Linked DNA regions of Homo sapiens: region 2 is linked to region 1. Evidence: promoter capture Hi-C in human tissues and cell types (Jung and others, 2019). All regions are on one chromosome and are shown on one strand. Each heading gives the region's core, a stretch centred on a gene start or on the middle of the fragment in contact. The rest is flanking DNA. Distances are from core to core; before and after follow the strand shown.

Region 1 (7,472 bases), core at 2,713-5,212:
GCTGGGCATGATGGTGCACGCCTGTAGTCCCAACTACTCGGGAGGCTGAGGCAGGAGAATCACTTGAACCTGGGAGGTGGAGGCTGCAGTGAGCTGAGATCGCACTACTGCACTCTAGCCTGGGCAAGAGAGCGAGACTCTGCCTCAAAATAAATAAATAAATAAAAATAAATAAATATTACATAAATGTGCCTATTAAGAAATGTTTTGCATTATGTTTCAATGGAAGTAAAAAACCTCACAAAATAAAATTTAGGGAAGAAACCAATTCCATCAAAGTAAGATGCAGGTAAGAGAACTCTCAAAGTCTTTTAGACACACTCAATTGTTATTATTAAACTATATTATTATCTTAATATTATCTGAATCTTATTCTGGTTTCACTACTTACAACTTTGACATGGGTTAGAATGAGATATAATTTTGCACCAATCAAGGGAAAAATACTTTTTAAGAAAAAAAATGGCATGGGACTGCCACAGGACTTCCATTCTCAATAGACAAAAGAATTTTATAAGGCTCTACTTATAAAATATAATTGCAATAGAGTACACTAGTGCTGAAGAGGCTGGTGGTGTGATATACTACACAGGAATTATCTTATGCAAAGGCAGGCCCTATTTCATTAACAGCATCAGGTTTAGTTAGTTTGGCTAAACTTACATGAATAATATTTTATTTCTTAAAAGTAAATAAAGCAGACCTTATTTCCTTGTTATTCTAAATTCGTATTCTGACAGACATTTGAGAGAATAAAAACCTGATTAAGGATCTTTTCAAACAAAGAAATAAGATCTTGTCCTGGAACAGTGGCTCACACCTGTAGTGCCAGCACTTTGAAAGACAAAGGCAGGAGGATCACTTCAGGCAAGGAGTTTGGGACCAGCCTGGGCAACAGAGTGAAACCCTGCCTCTAGAAAAAAATTTTTAAAAATTAGTTGGGCATAGTGGCATGCATCTGTAGTCCCAGCTACTCTAGAGGCTGAGGTGGGAGGATCGCTTGAGCCCAGGCAGTCAAGGCTGCAGTGAGCAGTGATGGACCCACTGCACCCCAGCGTGGGTGACTTAGTGAGACCCTGTCTCAAAAAAAAAAAAAAAAAAAATCACTGAAACTCATTCTCTCTAGTTGGGCTTGACTTAGAACTGAATACATTAAGCAGAAAATTAACACTGGTCATAGGTTTAAAAAATAATGAGTATGCTAAGCTGGGCATGGTGGCTTGTGGCTGTAGTCCCAGCTATTCAGAAGGTGAGGAGTGAGGATCCCTTGAGCCCAGGAGTTCGAAGAGGCAGTGGGCTATGATCGCACCACTGCATTCCAGCTGGGCCAGAGCAAGACCGTGTTTAAAAAAAAAAAAAAAAAAAAAGGCCAGGCGCGGTGGTGGCTCACGCCTGTAATCCCAGCACTTTGGGAGGCCGAGGCGGGTGGATCACGAGGTCAAGAAATCGAGACCATCCTGGCCAAATGGTGAAACCCCATCTATACTAAAAATACAAAAATTAGCTGGGCGTGGTGATGCCCGCCTGTAGTCCCAAGTACTCAGAAGGCTGAGGCAGGAGAATCGCTTGAACCTGGGAGGTGGAGGGTGCAGTGAGCCAAGATCGCAGCACTGCACTCCAGCCCTGGTGACAGAGACTCCGTCTCAAAATTAAAAAAAAAAAAAAAAAAAAAGACCTTAAGAAAACTTGCAATAATGTTTCTATCAAATACCTTACTATGCTATTTATTTAAGAAAAATGACCAAATCCAGTCCAATTTACAGATTTTAAAGCTGAAAGGGCATTGGAGATTGCCTAGTATGCTTTCCACATATCTAAGTGGAAACACACTCAGAGTGATTTATCAGAGTATACATAACATTACTGTACCACAACTGTGAATCTCAGTTCACGAGCTCAGACTTCTCTTTATGGAAAGTAGTTCACAGTATTTGAATCAATCCTGACACCACCTTTAGTTAAGGCAATGCAGACTGCAGTAAGGAGCTCCACTGTGGCAACCCCTATGCTGTTCCTGGTCTTGCAGACTGTCCTGTAACTTGAAGCTAGATGAGCAAACTTAGATTGTAAAGGCATGGTCTAGATCAGCAGTCTCCAACCTTAATGGCATCCAGGACTGGTTTCGTGGAAAACAATTTTTCCATGGACGGGGATGGGGGATGCTTTCAGGATGAAGCTGTTCCACCTCAGATCATCAGGCATTAGATTATCATAAGGAGCGCACAACCTAGATCCCTCGCACATGCAGTTCACATTACGGTTCGCACCATGAGAATCTAATGATGCTGCTGATCTGACAGGAGGCGGAACTTAGACGGAAATGCTCACTCACCCATCGCTCACCTCCTGCTGTGCGGCCCCGTTCCTAACAGGCTGCAAACCAGGTACCAGTCCGTCGTTGGGGACCCCTGGTCTAGATTACAGCTAAAGAACTACAAAGGCTTTCTCTTTATATGCCCTTCCTTCCTGCCCAAGACTTCTGGGCTTTTAACTAGGGATGCAGCACTGCAAGTATCCGGAGGCAGTAACTGGGAAAACCACCTATCATGATTAAAATAAAACACGCATTGGCCTCTGGAACGAAGGATGTTAAAATAATACATTCTGCCCACATCTTGGATTCAAGACTTGGGGAAGTTTTAGAAAAATCAGTTATCTCAAGTAAGTATTCAGTGCACACAATCCAGTGACTGAGTCTACTTTTTCTGGCTACTAAGGTACAGGCTAGGCCTAAGCAGCATAGGCTTTGAAACTATCATCCAGGTTTTCAAATAAAAAGGAGTAAGAAAACAACTGCTGGTAATACAACATTACAAACATTAACATATGCCCAACGAACAGTATCGTAGATCGTTAGATTATCTGCCAAAAGCCTGTTCCCTGGTAAATAACAGTTATTGTTGTTTTACCTAAACTAGTTAAACATGTCGCAGCTTGCTCCTGAAAGAGAACATTCTATAGTCTTTGGAGAATCAGTGAAGAGGTCTTGCAACATTTGTCAGAGGTAGTCAAACAGTGCAAGCAATCACAAAATTTGGTCACCAACCAAACCAGATTAGCTAATCTTTCAGTTCCTGTAGATTAGAAGACAATATTAACTCACCCTTTCTGCATGTTGACTTTTGCATCCCTTTATTTGTGTATTGAAAGAACAAGCACCTCTATGGGAACTCTATGCCCTGACAGTTTAATTACTTATCAAGTTTACTCTGGGCCGGTATTGATCATTCTTTCGTGAAACGAATTAGATACTTAAATTAAAAACAAACAACAAAACCCCCCTTTTCACATAGCATGGCGGCATGTCCCTTGGTAACAAGGTTGAGTGGATCCACCAAGGCCCAGTAGCTTGCCTCCTTTTCGTAAGGATGTAACTATTGTCCAACCAGAAGAGAGAGGCATGGAGTGGGATGTGCACCAGGATGAACTCGCCGGAATCGTCAAGAGTCGTTGTGTGACCCTCACCTTGACTTCGGGCGTTTTGTGGGGACCCAACTGCTTTCTTGCCGCTGCTCTTTGGTCTGAGTTTCCCTCAGCCAAACACTTCACCCACCCATGACCCTCCAACTGTCCCGCTACAGCAGGGGATGGGGGTTGTCTTCCGATCGACCTCGGGGGGCAAAGGCAAAAGTCCCTAGCTGCTTCGGAACCGCTCCTCGAGTCCTGAAGCCGCTCCACGCCTCCTCGCCCACCACTTGGTCCCCGCAGGACGTGGCAGTCTCGGGCTCCAGCCTGGAAAGGAGCCCGCCCGGGTGCCGTCACCCGCCCCGCGCGGCCTCACCTGCCGCTCCCCGGAAATCTCAGCGCTGCCCTGCCCCCGCCCCCACCCTCCCGCGTCCTCCAACTCGAGGTCCCAAGACCCACACAGCAATGGCGCAGCCGGAAACTGGGCCCTAGACTTACTCACGCCCGGCTGGCGGCTCGGGTCGCCTGTGGGCGGGACGCAAAGGCCGCGACTTCCGCCTTCCTGCTTCCGGTCTGGCGGTGAGTGGGGAGTGGGATCCGATCCCGTGGGGCTATGTAGGGGAAGTTGGTGGCTGCAGCTGCCGTGGTTTTCTCCTGGTGTCCAGCAGAAACGGCGGCGGCGCAAGGTGTGGCTGGGCCAACCCAGGATCTCCCAGGACCCTCCGCTCTGCGCGACAAGGGGCCCGCGCTTGCCAAGGCCGACGGGCAGGAGTGAACGTGGCCTCCGTGGGTCTGCAGCCCCGATAGGGTAAGGAGGGAAGAGTGAGCAAGGGAGAAACGTAAGGAATAAGGGAAAGACAAAGGAGGAAGTGCGGACGGCCGTCAAGTGCTACCCGTTGCAGCCGCAGGGGCCACGCGGGTCTGGTTGGGAGATCGAGCCTGGTCGATCCGTTTTGGGCGGAAGAGTAGGATTTATTCCTGAAAGTGTGGAGGCGCGAGCGTTTGGGTCCGAAGTTGAGTTGCAGGGAGATGTGTGGCCTGTGGACCATGGCTCTTTTACTGCAAAGTTCTTTTGCTTATTTCTGAAACTTACATTGTTTATTCGCTACTGGGCTGGAGAAGGTGAAGGCAGATCGATCTCAGTAGTACCTAATTCTAACTGTATGGGTGAGGTCGTATGAAGTCCAGGAGCTAAGATATTTAACGTATTAGGCACTTTCATGTGTGTTCAGTTGAAAATCGTGGGGAAGATATAATTAAAACTAGTCACAGTTTTCTTGGGGTAATGGGACTGTGGGTGAATTACTATAATTTGTTTGGTTATGTCTTCTAATTTTTTAAGTAAAGGACACAAATTGTATGATGGACCCAAAAAAACCTTTATAAAGAGTAAGATGAGCTGTTTGATTTTGTAGTGGTGTACCTAATCCAGTAAATAAATGAGTGGCAACATTTTTAGTATAAAAATTGAAAATCTAGGAACGGATACGCTGTGTAAGTCAGTCAGTGAGCCAACTTGTCTCCCGTATGTCAATGAACTAAAAAAATTTTATTATTGAAATAAGTAACTTAGTAAAATACTTGATTTCCAGTAATTAGGATTTTCTTACAGGGCATTTGCAATTGTAAATTCAAATGAGGAAGAAACGTATTAAGTTACTATACCGGATAGGCAATTTTAGATGTCATATAGGTTGCATATATACAATATAGAAATTTTCCATTTAAAATTTTATTACAATTATCCTGAAATTGTGACTTAAATTTTGTTTTATTTTTTGTATTCTTTCCAACTAGCCAATTGTACAGAATTTAAACCGTCTCTCAGATGTGTACAGTAGAACTCAAGAAGACAGACTACCAAGGGTCATCTGAAGTCGTGATTGGGTCACTAATAACACCAGGACAAAGTTAAGGGATCACTACTCAAGCATAAGGTAGATGATTTTTTTAAAAAAATTCCAGTTGAAATTGTAAGTGGATGTATATACACTCATTCCCTACCCAGGTATTCTAATTCTCCACTTTGAATAGCGGTTGACACAAACATGAAAGGGAGAAAAGCCTCTGGGGCAAAATAGAAAACGTCACTCAAGTCACATAATCCTCATTTGCCAGTTGCCTTTTCCTTACACTCAAAAAGGAACAAAACACATGGCATCTGTTAAGGCTACTTTCTCATTTATTAAATTAGGCTTATTCCAACAGAGGTCCTCAAAGCTGAAAGGGCATAAAATAGCACAGTACTTTTTGCTTCTTTGGCATATTAATGCGATGTCATGACTCCCTTACCCTCTCCTTCCCATTCGGGGAAATAGTCATCTCTCCTTCTCTGCGAGCATTTCACATGCTCTGTTGCTTGTCCTTTTCAAACACCAAATTTGCTGATTTGTATTTTTGTTAATTAGTAATACTAAGGATATGTCAAAAAATGACAAACTGTATTCAGCTGTTTCCTGGAATGACCACAGAAAACTCAAGATTTTTATAAAAGCCTCCTCCTAAATAAAGTTTGTCTTGAATATAGGAGGCATGTGAGAATGCATAGTCCTTATGACAGAGTCACATGGCTTTTTTAAATCTTCTATAACTTTACCTCTTTGAAGTGTCACTATTCTGGCTGTACTAGATGAATTACTTTTTCCTAACCAGAGATACTAGTCCTTATTACAATAGTACTAAGTTGTACTTTTTAAAAAAGCAAACTGAGTGATAATGGAATCCTGAGTTAACTGGTTGTGTGAGGAAACTTTTTCAAAATTTGATTAACCACATAGTCTTTTCTCCTGTTTTTTTCCTCTGTGTTCTCCACCCGCCTCCCCCAGCCCCAGTTTTCATAAGACTGCTGTGAAGATGTTTGATATAAAGGCTTGGGCTGAGTATGTTGTGGAATGGGCTGCAAAGGACCCCTATGGCTTCCTTACAACCGTTATTTTGGCCCTTACTCCACTGTTCCTAGCAAGTGCTGTACTGTCTTGGAAATTGGCCAAGATGATTGAGGCCAGGGAGAAGGAGCAAAAGAAGAAGCAAAAACGCCAAGAAAACATTGCAAAAGCTAAACGACTAAAAAAGGATTGAAGGACTGAACAGGCTTTGCAACCAGAGGAAAATCATTTGGAAAATTACACAGCTTTGGAAGAATCCACTAAAGTTTCTTCTTTGGATTTCTTGACAGTATGATTTAGTAAATGAAATTTGACCAAATGGAAGAATCATGTTAGTTCTGACCTCAATACTATAGTAACTTTTAGGCGTGGGTGTAGAAGTTTATAGGTTTCTATTGACAGTTATTGTAAATTAGCATTTACTGTGGTACAAATTCTTTATAACTGACTTAGTCATTTGCCGCTTAGCAGTTTATATACTGAAATGAAAACATCTTGTGGGGAAAAGTGACTTTAGATTATGAACTCAATTCAAATGAACTCTATTTAAAATGGGGTCCTATTTTGGACAAAGGAAATTAAGAATGTAAAAGTCAGAACAGTCTTGAGGTAAAAAGTGTGCTTTGGCTTAAAAGGGATACAGTATATTAATTACATCTTTTATTATTATTGTTTATTTCTTAGAATCATTTCTGGCTTTCTCAAAACAAAATAATATTAATGAGTACTTCTATTTGCTGCATTTTTCTTATTACAGCCTTTGAGACAGCTGGTAATTATAAGTCATTTTCCATTTTTTAAAACATAATTTTATAAAGAATTCTCTTATCTCGACTATGTAGAATACCACCTACTGGACAGAACAATTTTTGTACTCACAAACACTGCCATTTTCTTAGAGATGGCTTGAGAGGAGTAACACTATGGTTTAAAGCTTGCAGTAAAAATGCCAAACACTGTAGTACCTTGGAACCCAGTTTATTCTTGTGCTAAGCAGAACTGTAAAATAGTTAAAATGTCTTATCAAGTAATTCGCCGATTACAAAGACACCATTTGTTTTTTATTTCATTCTTTGTTTTAACTCATGTGGTAGTGATATTTAATACTTTCTGATCAAACAGGTTCAAAGTAAAACGTTAAATTTCACATTTCTTTTAAAGAACTCTTAAAGTGTAACAGTT
Region 2 (7,472 bases), core at 2,509-5,008, 670 kb before region 1:
ATAGAAGGCAAATGAATTAGAAATAAAGAGATAAAATGCACTATTCACAGATGACATAATTGTCTATATATAAAATCCCAAATAGTCTCCAAAAGAAGTTCTAGAACAAATAAGTCAGTTTAGCAAGACTTCAATGTACAGGATCATTATGTAAAAATTAATTGTATTTTTATATATAAATAATTAAAAATCAGAGTTTCATATTTTAAAAAGAGCAATATCATTAATAATAGCACCAAGTGCAGGATCTGTGTCTCAAAAAGCACAAAACTTATTTTTTAAAAAAATTTTTAAAAAATTTTTAAAAAATTTTAAAAAAATCAAAGAAGATTTAAAGAAATGGACAGATAGATTCTGTTTTTGGATTGGCTAAATATTGCTAACATGGGAATTCTGCCCCAAACTGATCTAGAGATTCAAAGAAATCCCAATGAAAATCCTAGGAGAATCTTTTATTGATATCGATAAGCTATTTGTAATATTTATATAAAATAGGAAAGGAACTAAAATACTCAAAACAATTTAGAAAAAGAACAAAGTTACAGGTCTCACACTAGCTGATTTCAACACTTACTATAAAGCTATAGTAATCCAAACAGTAAATTATTGGTAAAAGGATGAGCATATAGATCAACGGAACAGACTAAAGATTTCAGAAGTAGACGCATAAACATGTGGCAACTGATTTTTAACAAAAGTAGAAGGACAGTTCAGGGTATTGGATGGGGCTGGATGTCCATATGAAAAAAAAATGACCCATACCTTACACCTTTTATGAAACTTAACATGTATCATAGACCCACCTCTATACAATTTGTTTTTTAAAAAAGAGAAAATTTTTGTGATCTTGTTATGCAAAAAGTTCTTAGATAAGAAACCAAAAGCACTATCTATAAAAAAAGAATAAATTTATAAACTTGGTTTTATAAAAGAGCTGAAAACTATTCAAATGTCCATAAACAAACTGTAGTCTATCCATACAATGGAATACTACCTACAACAATAATAAATAAACTATGAGTCATACAATACTGATGAATCACAAATGCATTTTGCTAAGTGAAAGAAAGACCCAATAATTACATATTGTATGATTACACTTATATGACATTCTGAACAAGGCAAAGCTATCTCATAAAGAACAGATCAGTAGTTGCTAGGAATTAGGAGTTGTGGGAGGGTTTGACTGCAAAGGAGCAGCAGGAGGGAATATTTTGGTGTTATGAAGCTGTTTTGTGTCGATTATTCTGAGTGATGTATCTACCACGTGACTCTGCATTTGTCAAAATCTGTAGAACTGTATACCATAAAGAGTGGATTTTACCATATATAAATTTAAAAATAAGTTTTAAAAATAAATACAGTAGGTTTTGCTATCTTTCCCAATAACACATTTCCTGGTACTTCTCTGACACACCTGACTTCCAAACCATGGATGTTTGTATTAGCCTGTGGGTCACCTCCCTTTCTCTCTTCTGATCCTTCTAGACTTGCACTGTGCAATACTATAGCCACTACCTATGTGGGGCTATAAAGCATTTTAAGTGTGGCTAGTCCAAAACGGAGATGTGCTGTATGTGTAAAATACATATCAGATTTTAAAGGCTTAGAACAAAAAAACGTAAACTGTTTTATTGACATATGCAAATTAATTGTGTTTGAAATAAATTTTTTAATATATTGGATTAAATACAATATAGCATTAAATTACTTTACCTGTTTCTTTTTACTTTTAAAATGTGACTTCTGAAAAATTTAAAATTACATTTGTGGCTCACATGTCGTTTCTACTGCACAGCACTGGTATAAAGTTCTGCAGTGTCTGGTATCTCTGCTTTTCCAAGTTTCTGACTCTCAGCTCTTTGGAACAGACTAAACTTGGGTTCTGGGATTCATTCCTGAACCTTGGATACTGCTTTCTCCATCACTCTCTGTTTTTCTGTACCCACTCCCACTTTCTCTTCCCTTCATCTCCTTGGGAATACAATAATATAATGGAATAATGATCTTGCCTACTGTATTAGTTTGTTCTCACACTGCTAATAAAGACATACCCAAGACTGGGTAATTTATAAAGGAAAGAGGCTTAATTGACTCACAGTTCCACGTGGCTGGGGAGGCCTCACAATCACAGTGGAAGGCGAATGAGGAGCCAGGTCACATCTTACATGGTGGCAGGGAAGAGTGGACTTGTGTAGGGGAACTCCCCTTTATAAAACCATAAGATCTCATGAGACTTATTCACTATCATGAGAACAGCATGGGAAAGACCTGCCCCCATGATTCAATTACTGGGAGGTAATTACCATGACACGCGGGAGTTGTGGGAGCTACAATTCAAGATGAGATTTGGGTGGGTACACAGGCAAACCATATCATCCGTGAACAGAGATGTTTTATTTAAACAGTACAAAGCTTTCCAAGTTTTGAATTCCCAAAATTGGTGTGATAACTCTCCAATTCCTACAAGACCTACCACTACCTGTGGAAACTTTACATGTTTACATTATTTATCTGGACCCTGAAGAAATTTGAGTTCATGAATCCTAGACTAGCCCACCTTTCTCATTTTAAAGATGAGATCATCAATGTCCAGGATGGGAAGTGACTTTCCCGAATTGGCTTGGTCAGAGGAACAGCCAGAACTATCTCCAAGTCCACTGCTCTTTCACATTCTTCACTATCACAAACAAACCTGCTCTCTCTTGATTTGTTTTCAAAATCCTGTGGGACTTGAGTACAACAGCAAATCATCAGCTAGCCTCTTCTGATGTGATTCACGAACTCTCTCAATCAAATGTGGCTGCAAATTGTGTCACAAGAACACCTTCCACCATCTCTCTCTTGAGCTACCTGCCACAGTTCATTTAGAACCTTGCTTCATTTCCCCCATATTAATTACGAAGATTGAAAAAAGTTATTTTTGTATATGTTGTTTGTATACAGACATATCTCAGTACACAATTGATCATCTGCCGTGGGATTTCTGTGCTACTATGGAATCCAAGCTCCTAGAAGTAGTTAAGTTTATGTCAAATTATACTTACTGGGTGTATTAGTCTGTTTTCACAATGCTGATAAAGACATACCCGAGACTGGGCAATTTACAAAAGAAAAAGGTTTAATTGGACTTACAGTTCCACGTGGCTGGGGAAGGTCTCACAATCATGGAGGAGGGTGAAAGGCACTTCTTACATGGTGGCAGCAAGAGAGAATGAGGAAGAAGCAAAAGCCGAAACCCCTGATAAACCGGTCAGATCTCATGAGACTTATTCACTATCATGAGAATAGCACAGGAAAGACTGGCCCCCATGATTTAATTACCTCCCCCTGGGTCCCTCCCACAGCACATGAGAATTCTGGGAGATACAATTAAAGATGAGATTTGGGTGAGGACACAGCCAAACCATATCATTCCTAGAAGTCAAGGGAGTCAAATTTATGTCAAATTATAATCACTGGGGAATGGTTGGATTATGAAAAATTTTGAGTTTCTTTTCTATTCTGGGATTTTTAACTTCTTTGAGTCTCCTCTGAGCACCCTCTCAGATTGTGGAAGTCTGAGTGCAGAACTTTGCACAGGGTGGGCCCCCGCCAAATACTAGTCCCCATGAGTTTGTACCTAACAGATTCTTTTCCATTGTCCACCTCTTCCTCCAAGTCTGTGTGGCCCTGCTTTGCTGTCAGATTCTAACTCAGTTCTCTGTGAAGAAAGGTAAATCAAAACACACCTTAAGACACTTTCCTCAGTTAGCTCTTGCGTCTGTCCAATTATCCCCTTTTGGGACCCCTTTGTGTCAGTCTCTGGCTAATCAGTGTTCACACCACGTCCTGATTTAGTATAAACTGTAATTTTCATGAACACAGGGAGGGATTCACTCCTTCTTCCAAATTAATGATGAAGGTGTTAAATAAGAGCATCCCCAACAGCCATTTCTGCAGCTCCCTACGACCAGAAACTTTGCAATTTATCAATAAACTTTCTTTGTGATCTTGTAGCTAATTTTGCAAATAAAATTTCCTGAGACATATCGTCTTTACCAACATAAGATATATTACATCTCTTGCATTTCCCCTTCATCTATTCATAACTCTGTCAAAAAAAGCTATTGTGCAGGAATGATTTGTTTCTTTGAAGCCTACATCACTTATTGTTCCTGATATCATCACTCTCCTGCTACTTAGAGATGTGTATATATATGAATATGATTGGAAATGATGTTTACAGGGCAATTATTGCCAGTATCTTCCTTTTCTTCTTCCTTACTTCCAAAATCAGGCTATGTTTCGTATTCACACCAGTCCATCCATCTGCTAATTTTCCTGATTCCATACCAAGTGCTCAGCCTGATTTCTGATGATTACTATATGAAGCTCATCAAATTCGAAGGGGCCCATCCTCTGGATCTTGAGCAACATCCTAAGTAATATAGGCCAATGTCGAGGAGTCCTTGCACTCTCACAGCATGAGGGAAACCCACTTCCCAGGCACCAAAAGGGAAGTGTAAGAACCCTAGGTTCTTCTATTAGTGGAAATATATTTTTTTCAGGGAGCTCCTGTGGAGCTCCTGTGGAGATACGGGGTTTTTAGAAAATTAAGAGAATTACAGAGATCAACTAGGAATAGAAGTCCTGCCTCATTTTCATGTGGCCTAAAATAAATTGGGAAATTTGTCCATCTTAATCTCCTGGATATTTTACTTGTTTTGGTGTCTTGTCTTTTAAAAAAAGAAAATGGACATTTATTGAAAGCCTGTCCTAAGCCAGTCCACACAACCCCTAATATGTATTTTATTATCCCCATTTTATGGATGACATTATAGAGATTATGGTTATGTGGTTATGCCTGAGGCCACAAAGGCAACAGGTAGAGCTGGGACTCTTATACAGTCTGTTTAACTTCAGAGACCTGTCATTTTCCACCACCCATGCTAATTTATGTTTTACAGAAAATCATTTTAGATAATCATTATAGATAAGTCTAAAATCATTTAGAAAATCATTATAGATAAGTCTCACACCTACTCTGACCCTAGTTTCCTCTCCTGTAAAATCAAGGGTTTGTAATAACTTCATTGCTAAGATTTCTGCTTGTTGTAACACTCTGAGAGCCTTGAAGGACTTGAATTCAGGGCAAAAGAAGACCTCATTGTCTTTCCTATAGGTAAATGCTAATTTTAAAAAATAGAAAAAATAATGAGAGAACAATATGAGCTAAGACATATTGGCCTAAGTAAATGAGTGTGGTTCATGCAGATTCAGAAAACTAAATGACTAGAAGTAATTTTGCAAATTTCCTTAGAGATACCAACTAGGCCATAAAAAATGGAAAATGCCTAGATTGAAAACTTTATGGCTTCCCAGCTGCTGACTCCAACTCAAGTTGCAGCTCTTCACCAGGTAATCCAAAAGAGACTTTTACAGGGTTTTTGAACTGAAAGCTCAGCCTTTTGGAGAACATGATTCTGTTTACTGATATTTCCAGAAATCCTCATCACTTAAGGAATTTGAACTACTAGTATGATCTTCTCTTTTGTTTTATGCTCCCTCTTCCTTTGTATATAGTAGATGAGATGGCTTTTCACATAATTTAGTACCTTTGATAGGGAGAAAAATGATCTAGAGTTATGAGAGGGGCCATTACTTACACAGTTGACTACATTCTTAATGTTCTTGTTTCCTTTCTTTCGTTCCTTCCTTCCTTCCTTCCTTCCTTCCTTCCTTCCTTCCTTCATTCATTCATTCCCTCCCTCCCTCCCTCCCTCCCTCTCTCCCTTCCTTCCTTCCTTCCTTCCTTCCTTCTTTTTTAGGGAAAAGAGGGGAAGGGTTTTGCTTTCAGCAGCTTCTGTTTTGCAATTTGTAGTTTCTACAAACAGTATTTTTAAAGACTCTAATAGGCTCAGTCACCAATGGACTGGCCCATGCTCCACGTTCTCTCCCAGCCGGGACACCTGGCTCCTTGGCCAAAGCAGTGAAAGAAGAGATCATGGGCTGGTCATTGACAATGGCTCCAGCATGTGCAAAGCTGGCTTTGCTGGACACAACGTCCCCCAACCCATGTTCCCCCTCCATCGTTGGGCACCCCTGACACCAGGGCATGATGATGGGCATGGGCCAGGACTCCTACATTGGTGACTAGGCCCAGAGCAAGCATGAAAGCCTGACCCTGAAGCACCACATTGAGCATGACATCATCACCAAATACAATGAAATGGAGAAGATCTAGTTCCACATCTTCTACAACAAGCTGCGCATCACCTCTGGGGAGCTCCTGGTTCTGCTGACCAAGGCCTCCCTGAACCACTAGGCCACTCGTGAAAAGATGACCCAGATCATGTTGGAGACTTTCAACATCCCAGCCATGCAGGTGGCTATCCAGGTTGTGCTTATTGCACGCCTCTGGCAGCACCACTGGCACCATGATGAACTCTGGTGATGGGGTCACCAACATGGTGCCCCTCTACCAGGGCTGTGCCCTCTTGCATGCCACCCTGCATCTGACCTGGCTAGCTGGGACCTGACTACCCTACAAATACCCTCACAGAGCAAGGCTACAGCTTCACCTCCATAGCCGAACAAGAAATCATGCACAACATCAAGGAGAAGCTGTGCTATCTCTCCCTGGACTTCCAGAGAAGATGGCCACCACAGCCTCCAGCTCCTCCCTGGAGAAGAACTAGGGGCTTCCACACAGCAGGTAATCACCACTGGCAATGAACAGTTCCAGTGTCTAGCCCTCCTTCCTGGGCGTGGAATCTTGTAGCATCCATGAGACCACATTCAACTACATCATGAAGTATAATGTGAACATCTGCAAGGACCTGTTTGCCAACACAGTGCTGTCTGGTGACACTATCATATACCTGGGCATCACTCACAGGATGCAGAAGGAGGTCACTGCCCTGGCGCCCAGCACCATGAGGATCAGGATCACCACTCCCCTTGAGGGCAAGTACTCGGAATGGATTGGTGGCTTTATCCTGGCCTCGCTGTCCTCCCTCCAGCTGACGCAGATCAGCAAGCAGTAGTGTGATGAGCTGGCCCCTCCATCATCCACTGCAAATGCTTCTAAATGGACTGTGAGCAGATGCATAGCATTTGCTGCATGAGTTAATTCAGAAGTATAAATTTGCCCCAGGCAAATGTATACACCACATGCTAACCTCACAAAATTGGAATAAGCTTTTGAAAAGAAATTGGTCCTTGAAGCTTGTATCTAATATTGGCACTGGATTATAGAATTTGTTGCTGATTTTGACCTTGTATTCAAGTTAATTGTTCCCTTGGTATTTGTTTAACACCCTGTACATATCTTTGATGTAAACCCTTAGTACATGTGGCTCAGTCACTTCATGGCTGAGGTGAAAACATGCTTTTGAAGGAGAAGTCTGTGGCTTGGTGAGTCCGCGTGACCAGCAGTCTCTCAATCTGTGCAGGTATTAATGTGTCAGAATGGAGTGCTTCAGGATTTC

Evidence for each region. The method cuts DNA at HindIII sites, captures the fragments that hold promoters and counts their contacts. A contact is called where the count stands out against the background at its distance.
Region 2: a contact is called between a fragment that was not itself captured here and the fragment with the promoter of SMIM15 in region 1, in 1 of the 25 tissues and cell types used here (dorsolateral prefrontal cortex).

The regions. Positions count from the first base shown.
Region 1 is chr5:61,158,958-61,166,429 of GRCh38, reverse strand. It overlaps SMIM15 (small integral membrane protein 15), which reads left to right and starts at 3,962. Exons shown (of 3, transcript NM_001048249.4): 1 at 3,962-4,213; 2 at 5,203-5,342; 3 at 6,231-7,472. The coding sequence starts at 6,259. The coding sequence ends at 6,483. SMIM15-AS1 (SMIM15 antisense RNA 1) reads right to left here and starts at 4,114. Exons shown (of 4, transcript NR_109908.1): 1 at 3,904-4,114. RefSeq lists enhancers at 3,274-3,333, 3,374-3,473, 4,004-4,263, 4,334-4,413, 3,899-4,795 and a silencer at 3,714-3,823. The HindIII fragment of the contact is 13,088 bases long and covers 1-7,472 here.
Region 2 is chr5:61,831,544-61,839,015 of GRCh38, reverse strand. It overlaps the pseudogene LOC643307. Among named protein-coding and RNA genes, the nearest start is that of LINC03123, 100 kb to the right of the region's middle. The HindIII fragment of the contact is 6,877 bases long and covers 320-7,196 here.